Regions from separate parts of the Homo sapiens genome. Here region 1 is linked to region 2. The links are contacts of gene promoters, found by promoter capture Hi-C in blood cells and fetal thymus (Javierre and others, 2016). All regions are on one chromosome and are shown on one strand. The core of a region is centred on a gene start or on the middle of the fragment in contact, and the rest is flanking DNA. Distances in the headings are between cores, read along the strand shown. Region 1 overlaps PALMD (palmdelphin). Region 2 holds the start of SNX7 (sorting nexin 7).

Region 1 (6,924 bases), core at 1,421-3,920, 1.0 Mb after region 2:
TAGTCAGCATATGGGTTTTGTCACTTTAAAAGGGTCCTCAAGAGCAGTGCCTTAAATGAGATAGAAAGGTTCATTTCTCTCACATACATCAAATCCTAACTGGTAGACATTCAAGCAGAGGAGAGCATCAATGTTACATGAGGTTATCTAGAGGCCCTATTTCTTTCTGCCTTGTTGCTTTGCTACCTCCTAAGGGATGCCCTTGGCTATACAGTCAAAGCCAGCTCACTACCTCATCTGCATTCCACTTCAGGAAGGGAAGATAAATGGAGGACAAGCAGTTCAATTTTAATGGCATGACCTGACAGTTGCAGATGTCAATTCTGCTAATACCCTGTTGGCCAGAATTTACTCACATGGTACCATCTGAATGCCAAGGACACTGGGAAATGTAGTCCATAGCAAGGTAGCCAGGAAGTCGTATAAAACTCAGGGCATTCTATCACTAAAAAGAACAAAAGGAGAATGGACTGGGGATGGGGTGTGGAGAGAGGAAACGACAGGTTGTCAAAAAAGACTAGGATGTTCTTTCTGCTCACATTTACTAAATAGACATCATCCTCATACATATTATTACAACTCTTCCAATCATGCTGGATCACTGTTGAGATTTTCTGTTTAGATCAGTATTTGCAAGGACAAGTGTGTCCCTGAATCTATATTAGTACCATGCTTGCTAAAGTTGCAGATCAAACACCCAAATGGACCTGCTAGATTTTTGTCTTCCAATGGGGTTGTCACAGGTGGTCCTCCTCTCTCAAGCAAACTAAGAAGGAGAAAAGTGTAAGTCCTTTTCTATTTTTTTTTTTTTTTTGAGACTGTCTCACTCTGTCACCCAGGCTGGAGTGCCGTGGCATGAACTCACTGCGACCTCTGCCTCCCAGATTCAAGCGATTCTCCTGACTCAGCCTCCCGAGTACTGGGATTATATAGGTGCGTGCCACCATGCCCAGCTAATTTTTGTATTTTTAGTAGAGACAAGGTTTCACCATGTTGGCCGGGCTGGTCTCGAACTCCTGATCTCAAGTTATCCACTCGCCTCAGCCTCCCAAAGTGCTGGGATTACAGGCCTAAGCCACCACGCCTGGCCCAGTAACTCATCTTTACTAAGGAACTCCTCTACATCAAGCCCTGTTGTAGGGGTTTATGAACAATTACCTCAATTAATTCCTTAAGACAACCTTTAGTGAATACTACTATTATTCCCTAAATGAGAAAAAAAGCTTGGAGGGGTTAAATGATTAAGCCAAGTGTATTAGCTTTGAGATGGGTTCATTTTCTGTTTCCATGGGTAGAGCTGTAAAAAGTCTTTTTTTCCCCTGAGAAAGTGGGCTTTCACAAAAAAACTCACAAAATATAGGTAAACCACCAGCTGTTTCCTGTTCTCCCAAGATTTAGTGGGGAAGAAAGGGAAGAGAATCTCTAGGGGAGAATCAAGCTAGAATTGCTCACCACTCTAGGCAGAATTCAATACTTATCAGAGGCAAAGACACTCTGAGAGCCTGTGAGTCCCAAAAGAAACTGGATCCAGCTGGACATGGTGGCTCACACCTGTAATCCCAGCTTTTAGGGAGGCCAAGGCAAGGCGGGAGGATCTCTTGAGCCCAGGAGTTAAAGACAAGCCTGGGCAATACAGGGATACCTTGACTCTTAAAAAAAAAAAAAAATCCTTCTTTATCTAGCTTGGGGAATGTTGGGGGTGGGGGTTTGGTCCTAGCACTTCCATCGACCGGCCTCAGAGGCACATCAGTAGTGGCATAACACCTGCTGACTCAGGCCATCCCAGAGAAATAGCCATTGGACCCTCTCTTTAGGTGTAGTCCTGGCTTTTAATAAGAGAGTTTGGGCTACTGAAACGCAAGTAATTCATCAGTCCCTTCAAAGTATAGATAAGAGCCAGTCATAAACTTAATTTCATACCTAGCATTGGTAGTTACATTGAAACTGCAGTAATACAATCAAATTGCATTAGCCAGCTTTATATTTAAGACCTACTGCTTTAATTACTTTAAACAACACAGTCTTGTGTGGAAGCAAAGAAAGTCTTGCTATAAAGTGGCATTAGCTTAGGAAACCCCAGATTCTTTGAAGGAGACCGTTCTAAGAACTCCTACCAGAACCAAAGTCAAGCAGCCAAAAGGAAAAAAAAAGATAAAGCCCGGACTTCAATCCTTGTTAGATGGACTAACCCACTGAGCAGAAAAATCCCCAGTACAGAAAAATAACCCTAACGAAGATTAGGACAGAAATATTACCTTTGTATATAATGGGTCAACACGTTTACACACTCGTGGGCCCCAGCTATCATTTCAATCTTCACTTCCTTCATTATCATAGAAAGTAAAAAATCCCTTAATACTGCTGAGCTAAATGAATGTTGTGTCTAAGCTCCTAAGAATCAATTTTTTTAAGTTTTCTTTCTACAGTGGCTAATTGGAGAGGAGTTAAGAGTTCAGACTCTGTAAGTAAAGATCTGATTTCAAATTCCATCCTGCCTCAGGCTGCCTGTGAGACTCTGGGCCGGTTGCCTTTCTAGGTGCCCAGCTTGCTCATCTGTCAATTGGAACTAACAACAGTGCTCATGGGGGTTGCTGTAAGGACGAAATAGGCCAGTGCCTGGTGCAATGGAAATATGCAATATGTGTTAAATGTTATAAATGCTAACACATGAAGTACTGAAAGGTAGGATGATGACTTTTGAATTTTGGTTTGTGTGGTTTTTCCCCTCATGAGTTCCAATCTGTTTGGCCCCTAATGGCAAACTCTATCAGGTTGTGAGTCCTTGTTAACTCCACCAAAAGCTGAGAGAGATAAATGGACCCTTAGCAGCAGAAAAATTGCCTTCTGAAATAACCTCTTCCTGATGCATCCAGCATTTATGTGCTGTCCTTTTTTCCAAGACAAAAAATTGCATGTTGGAATTGGATTGGAGACATTATCTCGTGATGATTAAGGGAGGTTATTACTACAACAGTTCATGAAATGAAAGCTACCTGCTTTTACCCAGGGAGCTCTTGAAAATAACCCTCTTTTTCCCCAGTGAATAGGCAAGGAAAAGCAAGATTCCAATAATGGATAGCATTACAAATCCTTTTTCATGTACTCTGCTTATCTAAATTGGCACATGATGCCTGCCCACCATCTCTCAGAAATTGTGAGAGGTACTGACTCATCCATCAAGCCCCACCTAACAGCCTGGGAGGCACCAAGGAGGATATTTCTCTTTCTCTGCTGCCTGTTCCTCACCAAACTGAATCAGCATTTCAAGGAGCTCAATTCCCATTCTGAAAGGTAATACCTTCTAAAGATGGGGACGGCAGCACTTATGGAAATTCTAACCCATCAGCTGAAAGATAGGCATGTGAAAGTTAGAGAGTTACCCCACAGTAACCTCCCCAAAAGCTCTCCATTTGAAAAAATTTTAATTTTACATATATATGTATATACACCCACACATAAACACACATACATACACATATATGTGTGTATATCTATGTACATGCATACATGTATGTGTATATGTGTGTATATATATGCATATATATATATATTGCCTTCTGGAAAACCTCTTCCTGATGCATCCAGCATTTATGTGCTGTCCTTTTTTCCAAGACAAAAAATTGCATGTTGGAATTGGATTGGAGACATTATCTCATGATGATTAAGGGAGGTTATTCCTGCAACAGTTCATGAAATGAAAGCTACCTGCTTTTACCCAAGGAGCTCTTGAAAATAACCCTCTTTTTCCCCAGCAAATAGACTATATATATACATATATGTGTGTGTATATATGTGTGTGTGTGTGTGTGTGTGTGTGTGTGTATGTATATATATATATGTATAGAGCCCGGACTTTAATCCTTGTTAGATGGACTAACCCGCTGAGCAGAAAAATCCCCAGTACAACAAAATAACCCTAAGGAATATATATATTTTTTCTATAGTGGCTAATTGGAGAGGAGTAAGAGTTCAGACTCTGTAAGTAAATATCTGATTTCAAATTCCATCCTATATATTTTCCCAATACTTCATTTATACTTGCCAAATTTTTTCTCTTCCCCAAAACTACCTTTGGGAAGGGATTAGGAATGAGTCCCTAATTTAAGTCTTGCATTGTTTAAGCTTTAAATCAGGGCCGAATATTCTCTTAACTATGAATGGTCATTGAACAAGGAAAAACAACAGATACACAAACGTATATGTATCTTGGAATGGGAAGGAATAATGAGGAAAAAAATAAAAATATAAAAGAAATGGATATAAACAAATTCCTTATAAAGTACCTATCAAGAACTTACACTATACCAGGCATTCTTTTAGGTATCCAGGATTCCTCAACCTCAGCACTATTGACACTTTGGGCTAAATCATTCTTTGTTGTGAGGAAACTGTTCTGTGCATGACAGGACATTCAGCACCATCCCTGGCCTCTACCCACTAGATGTCAGCAGCACCCCTCACCCTCGCCAAGTTATGAGAAGCAAAACTGTCTCCAGACTTTGCCAAATATCCCCAGGGAACAAAATCGCCTCTGGTTACGAACCACTGTACTAGATACACAAAAATTGCCCTGCCTACTAGTTGCAATTTTTGTTTTATGCTCCTTAAGGACAGTCAGTCCTCAAAAACTCAGTGCATTATCTGGTGTACAGGTTGTCAAACCTCCTCTTCTCCATTGCTGGGCTACTGCTGACTTCTGACCAAGTGGAGGAGGTTGCGGGGGTTCTGGGAGCATCCAGTTCCTTACTCTCAGTTATGCTTTCTAAGTCTCTCATCATTTCCATTAGCATTCTGATCTTTTAGAAAGCTTTTCTAGAGCAGCAAATCTCTAACATTCATCTGATATTTATATTGTCCATAAATATTTGAAGTATCAAATCAACATACAAAAATAAGAAGTCAAGTTTTGCATTGAAGTGGAAATTTTAGGAAATGTTCTACATCAGTAGGCATCTCCTGTTAGAGGTTTGTGATTCTAAGTAATTAGTACCAAGATGTTTCCTAGTTATCCTTTTCAACTCAGAGTTGGCTGTGACTAAGGGATAAAGAATGGGAGGGAGGTGTTTGTTTATGTTTAGTTTTCACAAACATGTCATGATGTATTGTGAGACCACAGCGACTTATTAATGCAACTTTCATCCAGTGACTTGAAAACCTTCAAAAATATTCATTAACAGATACGCTGATGAGGTTTGCAGGCTTTCAACCTCATATTCTTACCATATTAGTCTAAAGAGATTCTTGGGATGAATCATATGGCATTACATTACCCACGGCTTTATCTTCAGAGAGAAACAACAACAAACACCAGTGCATTTCAAAATTCCCTAAGGTGTCATTGGCCAAGCAGACCAGGAGCTTTGTCTCTATGCCCCAGGAAAAGAAAGGGGCAGAGACAGGAAGAAACTAGCTGAAGTCATCGGGCTCATGCCTGTAATCCCAGCACTTTGAGAGGCCGAGGCAAGCAGATCACTTGAGGTCAGGAGTTTGAGACCAGCCTGGTCAACATGGTGAAAGCCCATCTCTACTAAAAATACAAAAATTAGCCAGGCGTCGTGGTGCACTCCTGTAGTCCCAGCTACTCAGGAGGCTGAGTCAGGAGAATCGCTCGAACCTGGGAGGCAGAGGTTACAGTGAGCCGAGATTGCACCACTACACTTCAGCCTGGGTGACAGAGCAAGACTCTGTCTCCAAAAAGAAAGAAGGAAAGAAAGAAAGAAAGAAAGAAAGAAAGAAAGAAAGAGAGAGAGAGAGAGAGAGAGAGAGAGAGAGAGAGAAAGAAAGAAAGAAAGAAAGAAAGAAAGAAAGAAAGAAAGAAAGAAAGAAAGAAAGAAAGAAAGAAAGAAAGAAAGAAACGAACACCCTATGAAGTTGTTAACATTGACCAGATCTCTAAATGTTGAATTGCTCCAGATTCAGGCCTTGGAATTCTTATCTCCTTCACTTTCTAGGGAAACTTATCCACTCCTGTGGTGATAAATACCAACTCCCAAATGTATATCTTCAAACCCAGACTTCTCTGAGCTCCAGTCTTGTATATCCAACTGTCTTCTCCATATCACACTTGATTGTCTCAAATTTAACACATCCCCCACAAATCCCCTTTCTTCTCTCTCCCAGATTTCTTCAGCCAATTGTATTGCATGTTTCCAATTATTCAGGTCACAAACAGTGGAATCACCTTGACATCTCCCTTTCTCTTATCCCCTGCATGTAATCATCAACAAATTCTGACAGCTCTTTCTGTCAAATATTTCTAGAATCCAACCACTTCTCACCCTTCTACTGGCAACCAACCTGGATTACACCATCTTCATCTAGATTTTTAGCACAATTGACCTCCATGTTTGCCCCATCCAGTCTATTTTCCACACAGCAGCCAGTGTAACTGTTTACATTTCAAGTCATAGCATGTTTCCTCTCTGTTCAAAATTCCAGTGGCTTCCCCAAAGCCCTTCCATGCACAAGGCCCTGCCTATCTGGTCATCTGCCTCCTCTCTGACTTCATTTCACCTTTCTACTCTCTTGGCTCTTCCTTCGCTCTCTATAGTTACTCTTCCATCTCTCTGGAGCACACTCCCTTTGAAACCCTCATGTTTCCCGCTCTCACTTCCTTCATGTCTCTGCTCAAATGACACTTTATCAGAGAAACTTCCCTCACCACACTGTGTGAAATAGTGCCCCCTCCTCAGGCTTTCTCTATATTCTTTATCTTGCTGTTTACAGCCCCTATCCTGCTTTTCTCATCAAAAATATTTTTTCTTCATAAATAAATGTGTTTATGTGTATATATATGTATGTACATACATCTGCAATATATACATATTTGTATTACACATTTATTAATGCAGGGATTGACAAACTATGGCCCAGGACCAAATCTAGCCCTGGCCTGATTTTGTACAGACACAAGCTAAAAATGGT
Region 2 (7,096 bases), core at 1,032-3,531:
GGAGGCGGAGGTTGCAGTGAGCAGAGATCACGCCACTGCACTCTAGCCTCGGCGAGGGAGTGAGACTCTGTCTCAAAAACAAACAAACAAACAAACAAAAAAACCCAGTGATAGTCCCACTTAATAGGAAGCTGAGACTACAGGAGGAATAGACATACTGCTTTGGAGTTGTACTAATAATGAGTAGGTTTGGGATTATCTCCCTTTGAGGGGCTGTGAACTGCATGCTCAGGTGCTCAAAGCATGGAGGTAGGGGGAGTATGTGAAGAAAGGTAATATTAATTGGACAGCCAAAGGGGCAAATTATAGTCACGTTTTCCCTACTCTTCTTCCTCATCCTACCCCTCTTCCTATTTTTCTTGTTTTTGGTTGACAAGCATCAATATGGCCTTTCTATGTTTAGAAAATTCTCTGCCTTAGGAATTTCCATGAAACTTGGCCAGATTGGCCAAGCACACATACTCTCCAGGGTTTTAATACTAGAAAAATCAACACAGAGAAACAGGGTGATGGAGACATTTTTGTGGCAGTAATAGCAGGGAAGTTCTCAGAGGTAGCTGTGGTACTGCTGCCAGGGAAAGCAACTGGAGTCCAGTAACATCAGTGTTAATGACAATATTGACACTGGTGAAGATGGTGTGGCAACCAGTATCAGGCAATGGTAGCAGCAATGTCTGTACCACTGGTTCTGTGGCCTTGCTTTTGGCTATAATCCAAGCTGTGCAGCCTTGCTTTATTCTGCCCATTTTCTGAGCCCATTCTCTATGGTTTCTAGCAATTCTGTGAGTTACAGCATTATTAAGAATTTCCTGGTTCAGATTGCAATTAGAAAACCTTGAATCTTCCTTACTAGTCAGAATAAGCTTATCAAGGAAAAAATAAAGTCTTTTAATAACTTATATTATTTACAGAAATTAGCAGAGAGCATTTTGAGAGTACATCTGATACTGTGGTTAATACATATCAGGATCCTCAACCTGAAAATGTTATCATTTACTAAGGAATGGAAAACTTGTACATGAAACAAATACAATCTGCAAGATGGAATAAAATTAAATGCTAAATTGAGAACAGACTGTCATTTAGAAAGTCTTTCTGAAAGAGATGGGACTATATTTAATTTCTGAAGGATGGGCAGGAGATGGCATTTAAAGTACAGAAATCATCAAGCACAGAAACAAATGTGGATACTCATGGGGCAGTGACCAACCTGACTGAAGGGTGGGTGCACGTCTGAAATCAATGGGAATACATTTGAATGATTAGGAGATAATATATTATTAAGGCCTTGCCTCTAATCAGAAATAAAGATATTCTCTATTTCCCCAAATAAGGAATTCTTACATAGAGCTTAATGTATTTAAAAATTTTTAAATGGGCCTACAGAAAAGAGGTGGGGCTGACGGAAGTAAATAAAACCTGAAGATAAATTAAAGAATATATCAACGTGGGCAAAATTTTCCATTAGTTTTGGAACTTAGTTTTGTTTTTGAATAATAAGCAGTTAAATAATTAAAGCTTTGCCTTGGCAATGCAAGGACTGAAGATTATTTCTCGGTGGCAATTTTCCAGACTTGCTAGTTGTCCTTGGGTCTTGGTAACATTCTGCTCATTAACTTCAGGAAGACGTCCAGGAGTAAAGATGCATTTGAAAGTGGCTGAAAATAGTTTGTAAAGCTCAGCTTTCCTGGCTCGACAGTGAAATGACCGCACAGGCCAGTCACTGGGTCAAAAATCAATTAACAAAACGGGAAGTTTTCATGTCTTTATTTTTACATTAGCTCGAAAATCACAACCAAGAAGAAAGGCAACCACTGAATACAGGAAATACAGTATTGTTATTGCTGTTTTTTTTTTTTCTCTTGGCAAGGCTGGGTCGGGTGCCTTCCAGCCTCGCTGTGGATCCCGCGAAGTGGACGGTTCGCTTCGTGGCTTCTTCCCAGACCCCGCCACTGCGGAAACCGTCACTCGGTGGCCCCCGACTGGGTCAATGCGAGGACGCCCACCTCCTACCTTTGAGTCTCTCCTCTTCTCCAGGGTACAGCCAACCCTTTCTCCAACGTAGCCGGAGTCCGAGAGTCCCAGTTCCGCCCCTCCAGCCCGCCCCAGGCCAGGTGGGGATGCGCCCGGCCCGGGCCAGCGCTGGTCCCGGCAGTTCCGCGTCTGCGCAGCGGGCGAGGGGCTGGAGCGGGGCCGGCCGGGGAGGTGCAGGAGACGTGGGAGCCAATGGGCACGCTCGGGGGAGCCGGGCTGGCGGCGGCGGTGGCGGCCGGCTGGGCGCGCACTCTCGGGATGGAGGGCGAGCGCCGGGCATCGCAGGCGCCCTCCTCGGGCCTCCCGGCCGGGGGCGCCAACGGGGAGAGCCCGGGGGGCGGCGCCCCCTTTCCGGGCAGCAGTGGCTCTTCCGCCCTGCTGCAGGCGGAGGTGCTGGATCTGGACGAGGACGAGGACGACCTGGAGGTGTTCAGCAAGGTGAGGGCGGCGGCGGCGAGTCCCGGGAAACTTCCAAGGCAACTCCGGGCGTTGCCAGCATTGCGCCGACGGCTGCCTCTGGCGCGCTTGCCCTCCCGGGGCGGTGGCTCTGAGCTGGGGACGAGTGAGGTCCCCCGGGCTGCTGGACCCCGCCTGCCAGCTCTGGCCGCACCCGGGGCCGCGTCGCCTCGGGGCCTCAAACCGCAGCCGCTCCCTCCTCCGCACTTTGACCTTCCGTTCGGCGGGGCTGTGGCTTAGTGGAGTCTGCAAAGTTGTGATTTGTTTTCCCTTTCTGCTTCTCTGACACAGACATCTTCCTCGCGGCAGCTCCCGAACCTGGGAGGCTGGTGGCTCAAAACCGCTCCCGCCAGCTGCTTTTCGGGCGAGGCCAGCCCTGAACTCTGGGAGAGCAGCCAAGTTTAGAGAAATTATTCTTAATTTAGTGTTGTTGCTTGTGGATTTGAGACTTGGGTGAGTCTCGGGTCTTGTGGGAATAGGTTCTAGGAAATCTCCCTGAACAGGAGAAAACGGTTGTTTCTAACAGGAAGCTCCTCCGCTGAGGAGCTAAGGATTTTTCAGATGGTCAGCTACTGCCACCCAACCCACAGCCAGTGCTTTCGTTTTTCCTTGCCCCCGGGAAATTTAGGACCAAAGGCTCTTATTTGCTTATTTTACTGTTGGAGGGAAATTGACTTGTGGGGGCTAGTGGTAGACTTTTGGTACGTGTAGACTGGTGTTTGTAATTTCTTAAAGGGTTTTAGAAAAGAAAAATACCTTTCTTGCAGGGAGGTTGAATGTCACTCCAGTTTCTCAAGTTGCTGCTGAGAGAAGACCTGAGTTCAGATCACAACGCTGTATTCATTACTAAGAAGCCTGTTCATTTTAACGTTACCTGGAGATATTAGGTAAAGCAAACGACCTACTTAACCACCGCATTTACTCTGGGAGAGCAAACCAAAGTTAGGAAGTGACCATGCATACTCTGACTCCAAAGAGGAGTATATAAAACTTATTTCTACTTCGGTTTAAATGGAATGATAGGCCCAGGTTTGTATTCCGAATATTTAAACAGACTATCACAGTTTTGTGCTCTTGACTTTTCTGTTAAGTAGTAAAACAATGGAATTATTTTATGTTTAGTTGTAAACTCTGCCTTTTTATATTCCACACATACTTCATGTTCAGATCAACGACAGTTGGCCAGTTGGTTATTTACTTTCTTTCCTTCTTTACATTGCTGTTTGGATAAGGAATATTAGTCTATGGTTATGCATTGTGAAACTTTGGGATGGGATGTTGGAAATAGCAATGGTGTATCAGAATCATCAGGGTTTCTTTCTGGTTTTTTTTTTTTTTTTTTTTTTTTTTTTTTTTTTTTTTTGTCGGGGCTGGACCCATCTGGCCTCAAGGGATTCTACCACCTCCAGCACCCAAAGGGTTTGGGATTACAGGCTTGAGCCACAGTGACTCGGATTGTTTTAAACTTGTCAAGTGGTTTCTCTTTCCCCAGATTCTAGGTGTTCTAGCTGACTCTTAAGAATCAATGTTTAAATGAGGTCCTCTTGTCAGAGGCAGATCCAAGGTGAAGCTAATGAAATTGAAGCTTCAGCGCTATTCGTTTGCTTAGACCTCTGGGCGTGTTGGGGGTTGCTGGAGTCGCAGATGTTCTAGGTGGGAAGGAAATGACAGGTCCCGACCAGAAGCATTTCTAAATAAGCATTTCTGGTGAATTGCCTAAAGCTCTCTCAGACTAAGGAATCTAGATCTCCATGGCTCCAATCATTTATTGAGATTTCTTTTCTCATTCTGAATAATGTGTTTTTCCACCTAATTTTGTATTCTTTTAAAAGGGGACCTTCCAAACTCTAAAAGCCCGTACACCTGGGTCCACCCTGCTTGTTAGTGTTAACTGCGCGTGTTGGATGCTTAGAAAAAGTTAAGAACAACTTCTGTAGAAACTGCCCACATAGATTAAGGCAAAGATATAATATTAGTGAAAATCCAACAAGAGTAGTTGGAAAAGTTTAAAATTAGCCACTTTCATCCATTTCAGTAAGTTGAATTTCTCAACCGTTATCTGTAGTTAAGCAAATTTAAGAAAGCCTGCTCCACGTGGCCTTCCCTTTCCACTACCTTCCTTGCCTGCTCCTCTATAAAACAAACACCACTGCTGTTCAGCCTATCCTAGGATGGAATCTCACAATTACTTATGAAGCAAACTGTCCTTCCCTTTTAGTAATTTGAGATTGGCAAACTACATATTTAATTTACATTCACCTTTATAGTCCCCTTATTCTCTTAGATTATTTGTGAATATGTGTCTGGTATACTCTTCCAGAAGCTTTTTAAAGAGTATGAATTTCCCCAGCACTTTGGGAGGCTGAGGCTAGCGGATCACTTGAAGTCAGGAGTTCACAACCAGCCTGGCCAACATAGTGAAACCCCATCTTTACTAAAAATATAAAAATTAGCCGGGTGTGGTGGTGGGAGCCTTTAATCCTAGCTAACCGGGAAGCTGAGGCAGGAGAATCTCTTGAACCCGGGATGCAGAGGTTGCAGTGGGCTGAGAGATCACGCCACTGCATTCCCACCTGAGTGACGGAGTGAGACTCTGTCTCAAAAGAAAAACAAAACAACTTCTTATTATTTTTTTTCCACAACGTATTACAAGTACATGGCAAATATACATTTTGTGTTAAGTATGCTTTAAAAAAAAGAAATACAAGATTTAGTTCTTGCTATCACAATCTTATACTCCAGGTGGGAAGATGTGACAAACTCTAAATGGCAATATAAATCAAGAGGGATGGAAAGTAAAACAAAGTTGTTCTGAATTTTCTTATAATCCAGTGAGAAGAAAATGATGCCAGACCTCAAGAGAATGCAGAGGACATTGATTTAAAAGAACGGGGATAGATGTTAGAAGGAAGAGAACAGAACCAATCATACAAAAACAGTAAAAATAAAAAAATAAAAAAGATACACAAATGGTAACAAGAGCCTAAGAATTATTTTAGAACTAGGTCACAATGAGATGAGGCTTCCAAAAAATTTAACTGGAGAAAAAGGGCCAGTTTCTTCACGTTTAAAGGAAAAAATCCTCCTCTTTGGGGAAAAACAATAAATTAAAATAAATTGCCTTTATTTTTATTGAATACTGTATAAAAGAAACAGCTGTGGATACAGTGTATGTGATTAGGCCACAATGAAGCACTGAGATGCTTATCTGGTACTCAGTAAATGATAGCTCTAATTGGCCTCTTTAAAGATATTCGGGATCATAAAAGTGAGATATATATCATCTAGGATAATCAGGGAACTTACAGGTGTAATCATCCTCATCACCACTAGTCATCTTTGAGAAATCATGAAATGCAATAATGGTTCCCTGAAACTAGAGATAGGTAAATATTGTTTTTAAAAATAATGGGCAAAATGGGAGTTCTGGAAGGTAGCGAACAGTAGGTTTCATTTCAATCTCCAAAAAAGCCATGAAATGAATTATTTAGTATGTTGTTTATACACACTTTGAAAAAAACATGATCAATAGAAGCTACAAGTTTTATAAGAATAATGAAAGACTTAAGATTGTGTTTATGGTAAATCAGAGTTATAATGACATGATTGAGCAAGGCTTTTGAAAAAAATCACTCATTTCTTCAGAAAAGGTTATTTATTTATTTGTTTATTTTTTGAGATGGAGTTTTGCTCTTATTATCTAGGTTGGAGTGCAGTGGCACAATCTTGGCTCACTGCAACCTCTGCCTCCCGGGTTCAAGCAATTCTCCTGCCTCAGCCTCCTGAGTAGCTGGGATTACAGGCATGCGCCACCATGCCTGGCTAATTTTTTGTATTTTTAGTAGAGACAGGGTTTCATCATGTTGGCCAGGCTGGTCTCAAACTCCTGACCTCAAGTGATCCACCCGTCTCGGCCTCCCAAAGTGCAGGGATTACAGGCGTGAGCCACCGTGCCCAGCTGAAAAGTTTATTTCTGAAAGAATAAAGTTGAGACATCTAACATACACATGTATACATATCTTTATATGTATATATATATTTTTTTCTTTGTCAATTTGGAAATTCAGTATAGTGATGGAGCGGCATAATTATACTATTCATCTATTCTATCAAATAATTAGAAAAAGATTAGGAAGTCCTGCTTACTAATTTCTCACATATATTCTCTGCACAGTCTATTTGGTTTCTGTTGTGTGCCTATATCAGTCATCACTCTGATAAAAATCAGAATTCTCTCCAATGATTTAAATGAGAGTTGAATGCGGGGACTATTTATGGAATTATTGGCAGAGTTAGTGAACAAACAAGGAATACTGAGGCATTTAGAGAGTTGTAGTGGGAAAAAGCTATTAGCATCCCTAGCTTTAAAGGGACAAGAAATGGAAATAGCATTGCTGGAAACCAGTCAGACCTGGAGCTGTGGAGATGGGGACACTTCTTCAGGAACTGCATTTACAGAGAGAGGTAGCTACTGCCGGAAACGTGCCAAAGCAGGAGGAAATAAGGGGTATGTTCCCTGAATTCCTCTCCTCCTGCCTTTGGATCTCCTGCTTGCACTCCTCTTTGAGTGGTCTTGCTAAGGTGATGTCATCTATAGGTGCCAGCC

What was found. Contacts are between HindIII fragments. The CHiCAGO score rates a contact against its expected background, and 5 or more counts as called.
Region 1: a contact is called between a fragment that was not itself captured here and the fragment with the promoter of SNX7 in region 2, in 1 of 17 cell types (neutrophils). The highest score is 5.3, in neutrophils.

The regions. Positions count from the first base shown.
Region 1 is chr1:99,677,315-99,684,238 of GRCh38, forward strand. All of the region lies in intron 3 of PALMD (palmdelphin), which reads left to right. Among named protein-coding and RNA genes, the nearest start is that of PALMD, 35 kb to the left of the region's middle. The HindIII fragment of the contact is 2,899 bases long and covers 1,222-4,120 here.
Region 2 is chr1:98,659,440-98,666,535 of GRCh38, forward strand. It overlaps SNX7 (sorting nexin 7), which reads left to right and starts at 2,282. Exons shown (of 9, transcript NM_015976.5): 1 at 2,282-2,472. The coding sequence starts at 2,293. SNX7-DT (SNX7 divergent transcript) reads right to left here and starts at 1,333. Exons shown (of 1, transcript NR_189290.1): 1 at 868-1,333. RefSeq lists silencers at 2,084-2,223, 2,244-2,363, 2,594-2,663. The HindIII fragment of the contact is 2,557 bases long and covers 1,517-4,073 here.